2 separate regions of the Homo sapiens genome follow, and region 1 is linked to region 2. Evidence: promoter capture Hi-C in 16 types of primary human blood cells and fetal thymus (Javierre and others, 2016). All regions are on one chromosome and are shown on one strand. Each heading gives the region's core, a stretch centred on a gene start or on the middle of the fragment in contact. The rest is flanking DNA. Distances are from core to core; before and after follow the strand shown. Region 1 overlaps ALPK1 (alpha kinase 1). Region 2 holds the start of MIR302CHG (miR-302/367 cluster host gene).

Evidence for each region. Contacts are between HindIII fragments. The CHiCAGO score rates a contact against its expected background, and 5 or more counts as called.
Region 1: a fragment that was not itself captured here is called in contact with the fragment with the promoter of MIR302CHG in region 2 in 1 of 17 cell types (neutrophils); the score reaches 6.7 in neutrophils.

Annotation. Positions count from the first base shown.
Region 1 is chr4:112,434,508-112,438,005 of GRCh38, reverse strand. It overlaps ALPK1 (alpha kinase 1), which reads right to left. Exons shown (of 16, transcript NM_025144.4): 12 at 2,705-2,858. Among named protein-coding and RNA genes, the nearest start is that of NEUROG2-AS1, 79 kb to the left of the region's middle. The HindIII fragment of the contact is 6,124 bases long and covers 1-3,498 here.
Region 2 is chr4:112,648,317-112,651,739 of GRCh38, reverse strand. MIR302CHG (miR-302/367 cluster host gene) reads left to right here and starts at 1,689. Exons shown (of 3, transcript NR_146092.1): 1 at 1,689-1,748; 2 at 3,141-3,227. It overlaps LARP7 (La ribonucleoprotein 7, transcriptional regulator), which reads right to left. Exons shown (of 13, transcript NM_016648.4): 9 at 2,054-2,205; 10 at 1,158-1,279. MIR302C (microRNA 302c) reads left to right here and starts at 3,310; the gene lies at 3,310-3,377. It overlaps MIR302B (microRNA 302b), which reads left to right and starts at 3,183; the gene lies at 3,183-3,255. RefSeq lists an enhancer at 2,147-2,869. The HindIII fragment of the contact is 6,288 bases long and covers 1-3,423 here.

The DNA.
Region 1 (3,498 bases), core at 921-3,420, 210 kb after region 2:
GACTTGAAGAAAGTGTGAGACATGATTTGTATATTTCAAGAGCTAATAGCACAGTTGGTGTGGGAAGACACAAGGCAGTAAATGATTACATGCGGAAAGAAGCAAAACAGTGCTGCACTTTACTGTAGTTTATACTTGCTGTAAACTGGTGTGAATTTGTGAGTAATTTCACATGTGCCCAGAGTGACCACCAAAAATCAAGGGGAATTGTTTGAGTCATAGACTTCAACCAGAGTAAACTCTCTCCAGAAATTTCTGAATCCCATATAATAATGGAACTTAAGGAGGCTGTGGTTTTGGCCATTCAGACTCCTGAAGACCAGAAAGGAAATCTGATAGTGGAGGCTGCAGTATGGCCTCAGAAGGCAGCCTGCAGAGGAGCAGTTGTTGTAATAGGGATGCCATACCAGTGCTTTAGGCAGTTCTTCTATGGAGAGACCGCAAGACCTATAGAGGGTTTGAACTAATTCAGAATTTTGTTGACTGATACCAGAGGTGTGCACAAGAGAGTGAACCTGTGAGTACTGGCTACTGGAGCATTTCCTGAACATTCTGCCAGAAGACCTCCAGTCTTAGGCAGGGGATCATCAATCTGAGAACAGAAGTCCATATCTTCTCTCATCTTGTACCATTTTTTTTCTGGGATCATTTTTCTTTAGTGAGGATTTGTTCATGGTAAACTGCCATGGTCATTTTTCCTTTTAAGCTGCAAATGTCTTTATTTTGTCTTCCTCCATAAAAGAGAGTTGCACTAAGTATATGACTTCCATTGTCTCTGAATTCCATTGTTGCTATGAAGAAACCAGCTGTAGGTCAAATTGACATTTCTATGTACGTAATCTGTCTATTTTCTTTGACTGCTTTTAAAATGGTTTCTTTGTCCTTAGTGTTTGGAGTTTGACTACTGTGTACCTAGTCAAACTAGGTACACAGGATGTCTGACTACCTGCCTTCCAGCTTCTTTCCTCCTTTCCCTTCTGTCCTTAGGATTCACTGTGATTTCTGTATTTCAAGATTAGTGTATTTTGGCAATTCTGAAAAATTACCAGAAAGTATCTATTCAAATATTGTTTTTGCTCTCTTGCTGTTATTTTCTTCTGATCAGAAATATATTGAACTCTGCCACTCCATTCTCTATGTCTCTTATTCTCAATTTATTCTCATCTCAGGTCCTCCTATGGTATACTCTGGTGTATCAGGGCTGCTGTCACAACATGCCATAAACTGGGTGGCGTAAATAACAGAAATTGATTTTCTCACAGTTCTGAAGCCTATAGTAGTCCAAGATCAAAGTTCCAATGGGGCCATCATCCTGCTGAAGGCTCTAAGGAAGAATCTGTTTCAGGCTGTCTCCCAGCTTCTGGCAGTTCTCTGCTATGAGGCAACATAACTACAATCTTCACATGGCATTCTCTCTGCGTCTTTGTCTATCTCCAAATTTCCTCTTTTCATAAGGATATCAGTCATATTGGATCAGGGGCCCACCCTACTCCAGTATGACTTCATCTTAACTTCACCAATTACATCTGCAATCCCTCTACTTCCAAGTAAGATCGTAGTCTGAAGTACTGAGAACTTCAATATATGAGTTTTGGGAGACACAAGTGAAGCATCAGCACATGCCCCTACTGCTTAGACATGTGATTTCAGGCAATTCCTTAACATCTCTGTGACTCAGTTCCCTCATCTGTAAAGTGAGAATAATAATAGTATCTACCCTCAGAGGGTTTTGTGAAGATTAATTGAATTAGCATATAAATCATTTAAAACAGGACCTGGCATATGTTTACTAAAATAATAATAATAATCAATAATCTTTTCAAGAAATGTACTTCCACTGCTTACAGAGACACTTGATTTCTCTATTTCTATTTATTTCTTACACTATTTGGATTTGAGCAAATAACAAGGCCAACTTTAAATGAAAAGTCATGGCTTATAGGTCTTTTAAAATATACAAATGATAAAAAATTATGTCTTAAATCCAATGAAGACCACCTGTGGTTACTAATTTTTCAGGTGAGTTTTTGTTTAAAATTTTTATTAAGAACTAAGGCCAAAGCAAAAACTTTCCAGGCATTTACTTCACTGGGGTGGGGTTTTCAAAGATACCCTTTATCGTGGGGATGTAGCCATTCCTGAGTCTTTGCTTGTATGAGTGGTATCTGAACTCATTCCCTTCTGGGTGTAGCTTTTGCTACGGGCTGCACCCTCACTCCACCCCTGCCTCAAACGCCTATGCGGGATCCCTAAAGGGTTCAGCAATCACTTATATCCCTGAACAGGCTTCATCCCTGGACTCAGGATTTTCCTGCCTTTTTTCAGGCTCACCTATTTACTTAAAAGTGTGCTTTTCATAATTTACCTTTTTTTGCCAGCATTTTTAGTGAATATTGAAGGCTCTCTGGCCTGTCATGTGGCCAGGAACTTTATTTTTCTTATCAGTACAGTATGGCCAATGTTTCCCTGATGGTTTTGAGGTCCTGTAGCTAAAACATCCAGCAAAACAGCTGATGTAACGTGGGTCCTCAATATATAGTAACTGTTGTTAATTAATTAATAATGAAAAGAAAAAGGAGTAGAAATCTGGAAATATATTTTGGCCAAGTTTTTCAGCCCCTACGAAGTCTCATGAGTGATTACTTAACAGAAGAGCAAGGTTAGCTCATCTTACATTAGTTATACAAATGTTTTTAAGTAATACCTCCCCAGAATTTCTTCTTGATGAAGATGATGAACCCAAAAAGCATTTCTTTGTCTGCCTTTTTTCTTCACAGTCAAGTAGTCCCCCAAATAGACAATAGTTTCCTGGGCCGTCCACAGTTCAGATTTTTTTGAATATTTTAACAAAAGAGCACCTGGGAAAAAAAAAGATGAAAATGAATCTTATTTTCAAAAGGACGTTACAATTCATGAATAAAGCTGATGTGACACAGGTCCTACGCCAGCTCACCTGAAATCTTCACTTTTTTATACACTTTTCTCTAATTTTCATCTCTTCTATGACAACTACAGTATTAAAAAGTTAGTGAGAAATAATAAAAAAGTAACACTTTATAAATTACAATGAGGAATAGCCTTTGAGTCACAAAATCCCTTAGTTGTGATGAAAAGGGATTAAGATAAGCATGAAGATTCTATATGAAAGTAGTGGAAAATAAAGGAATTTTAAAATCAGAAAACCCCAGAGACCATTTTGGGACAAGTGACACATGCTTGCAACTTACTATTATTACCTGGGGATCCCAAATAACAGAAGCTACTACTGATGGCAGCTCTGGGAATCCTAGCATTATATATTCAAGTGCACCCTAATTTTCTCTTCATTGTTTTAAGTTGAGAAAGTTTGGAAATTATTTGAGAAAATGTAGCTGCTGTAAAAACATGCGAACTCAACTGAAAAAAGGAAAACATAAGAGGAAAAAGTAGGGGCAGTCTCCACCTTATAGAAAGGAAGAACAGTGCTAAGCAAGAAAGCATCTCTTTGAGGAGAAACAC
Region 2 (3,423 bases), core at 440-2,939:
AGCCTGGTAATCACATGGGCAAGTCACAGACAGTTGTAACCAACACAGCTCAGTTTTTGTTTCAGCAAAATGTAAGTAACTACTAACTGGATTAATGCAGGGATTGATTTTATGATTTTGATGATCATAAATGATGAATTTGTAATTGATAAAGTTACCCTTTAAATAACAGAAGTTATTTAATGAGTTGATTAGAAATAACTCTGAGCAATTTTTGTATTAAATGTTTTGCAATCTGATTAATCAGAGCAGTATTTACATCCCTCAATTTTCAGCTGTCTCCTGAAATGCAAGCTGGTAATAGCAATTTGGATTTGGCCAAATCCTTCACCAACATTGCAAAGAGGATCAAAATTTGTTTCTTAGTGACAGCTATAGGATTGTAGGACAGTATTTCAGATAAGGAGGGCTTACAGATAAACAAACCACCACCTCAATGGTATTCAAGTTAAAACCTGTGACTGATGAGTCTACGTAAAACCAAAACAACATACTAAGTGATGATGAATGTCAGTATAAGAAAATACTTAAAATATGTGGTATGTTACAGAGCATTTCACACTTTTTAAAAAGAAAAGGATTCACTTAAATGGGTGACAGGCAGGGTAAGGGTAAATAAGATATGGTACTCTCACCTAAAAGTATATAATTTCCCTAATAGAAAGTATTGCTACCAATGTGGTATAAAAGGCTACAGAAGATAGACTGTATAAAGCGAAAAAATTATAAACCTGTATGTACAGCAATTTGTAGCGTAAATTATATAGAAGTATGGGTTTTTTGGCACATGCGTGAAAAATTTTAAGAGGTTTTCAAAAATATTTTACTTTTCTATAATTAAAATTTTAAAGATAATCAGCACATAGGTAATACAAAAAAAATCAGTGCCAATAAAAATAAGCAAAAGTTACAATTTTCCTATAGAGAAGGATGTTTAAACTGTGCTTACATATAGATTTAGTGAGGAATTTCAGCCTCTAGATTTTGCTTCAAAATTAAACCTAAGAGTTACCATGGAATTAAAACTGTACAGTAGTTTACCATAGGGAAACAAATTCTAACTTGATTTGTTTTATCTTCCATATTCAAAACATTTTCACACAGGGAAATAATAAGAGAAGAAAGGAACAAATACCCTAGGGGCTCAAAATCATTACCCGGACTTGTTTCCTGCCAGGTAGAGGCTCTGTGCTAATGATCTTCACAATCACTCCACTCACGAACTGTGGTCCTGTTGCATTAACTTTCTCCTGGGTGCGACACTCTTCCCTGTTGGCTGCTGATTAGAAAAGGAAAAAGACCAGGACTAAATCTCTTACACTTAACAACAATTTAATACTTAGGAGGACTACCTTAGAATAATTCCTGAGGCAGATTTAAATAATTTAAAACGTATTTAATTTTAAAGTAAACAATTAAAGGTTATATGTCATACTGCTTATTTCAAAATACCATGAATAAAACTCAGAAAGTTTTATTATTCTACATGCAAATTGTTACTGCTAGAAGAGCATTCGTAAAGCCTTTAAATTTGCCCCTTCTCCCTGAACAAAGGAACAGTAAATTTTTACTCAATAAAGTTAAAAAAAAGTTAAAGGATACTGTGTTTTAAATACATTATTATTCAAACGTGAACATTTATTTTTACAAGAAATGAGAATTTAAAATGTATCCTAATTTTGAATTCATAGGAATTCTGCTTTAACTTGTTCCTGCTTGTGGTGCATACTACAGAATGAAATTAACAGGTGAGAAACTACAATCTTCATTCCTACAAACTTGCTCAGTCTGCAAACTCTGCACTCATGTGCTTGATGAAAACTGTAGAGAAAACTCAGGTTATTTAAAAAATTGTTTTAAATGAGCCTTTTAAATATTCTTATATCAAGAGTAAGTAACACATCTGGATAACTTAACAAATCAAGAATTGTTCTAATAATGAAATAGAATAATCAAGTTTTTTAAAATTAAAATTTATCTTATAACAACTCAGAGATAGCATTTACATATATAAGTACATTATAATGTTGTCAAAACTATCAGTGATCTTTACTTTTTTCATTTTTCATTCCAGTGTTTTGAGGTACTCCACTGTCTGTTTCCATTTCTGACTCTGATTTTATTTGGGATATTGTTTTTTTTAAAGAAGCCATGCTAGCTTTTTGTAGCGCTAAATACTCTTTTTTCAAATCCATCCATTCGCTCCTACAAGGAAAGAAATGGTGATAACAGATGACTAAATATAAAAAGTAAATAGGGAAATATCTAAATATATACATTCACAATGACTTGGAGCAACTCCTCCACCAACTTTCCTGTTTCTTTAAACACATATTCAAAATATTTCCTAGGTTCTAAAGACATTTAGCAAAATAAGCTAAGGGAGTTCCTCTTCCCCCAATATTCAGATTAAATGTTTTAAGATTGCCAATTAAATTTTTGAGTGTCTGAAGTATTTTAATTTATAAAAGTAAAATTTTAGCATTAATTCCTTAACTAGTAACATTTACTAAATCAGTCATCTCTGTGGGAAAAGGGCGAGATTAAAGATTTGTTAAACTGCTTCCAATTTGAGAGATAACATTCCTTAGTATTTACTTGAATCAAAAAGAATTTCTAAGTAGAACAAAACACCCCGTGGAAGCAATCTATTTATTTACATACATTTAACATGTAGATGCTTCTTCAAACAGAGTTCCTCCAGATAGAAACACAATGCCTTTCTCGGCTCAGTGGGAGCACTCATTGTTACCCTAATCTATGCCATCAAACAAGCAGATAGGAGATTTTCTTTTTCTTTTTCTTTTTTTTTTTTAAGAGGAAGATATCTTGTGGTAATGGTTTTAGCTGTTAACATTGACATCTGTATACTTCAAAAAAAAAAAAAAGGATCCAGACCCACCCAGGATCATACATTCCCTGAGAGCTGATACATTAAAATAACAAAAGGCCCTTGTAATGATTCTCTGAGATAAAAAGGCAAAAGGAATTCAAGAGTTAAGAATAGTATAAATAGAAGTGGCTGAAGTCCCTGCCTTTTACCCTTCTGGAGGAGAACACGAATCTTTGGGAACTAGTTCAGGAAGGTAAAAAAATTTTTTTCTTCTAAAGTTATGCCATTTTGTTTTCTTTCTCCTCAGCTCTAAATACTCTGAAGTCCAAAGAAGTTGTATGTTGGGTGGGCTCCCTTCAACTTTAACATGGAAGTGCTTTCTGTGACTTTAAAAGTAAGTGCTTCCATGTTTTAGTAGGAGTGAATCCAATTTACTTCTCCAAAATAGAACACGCTAACCTCATTTGAAGGGATCCCCTTTGCTTTAACATGGGGGTACCTGCTGTGTGAAACAAAAGTAAGTGCTTCCATGTTTCAGTGGAGGTGTCTCCAAGCCAGCACACCTTTTGTTACAAAATTTTTTTGTTATT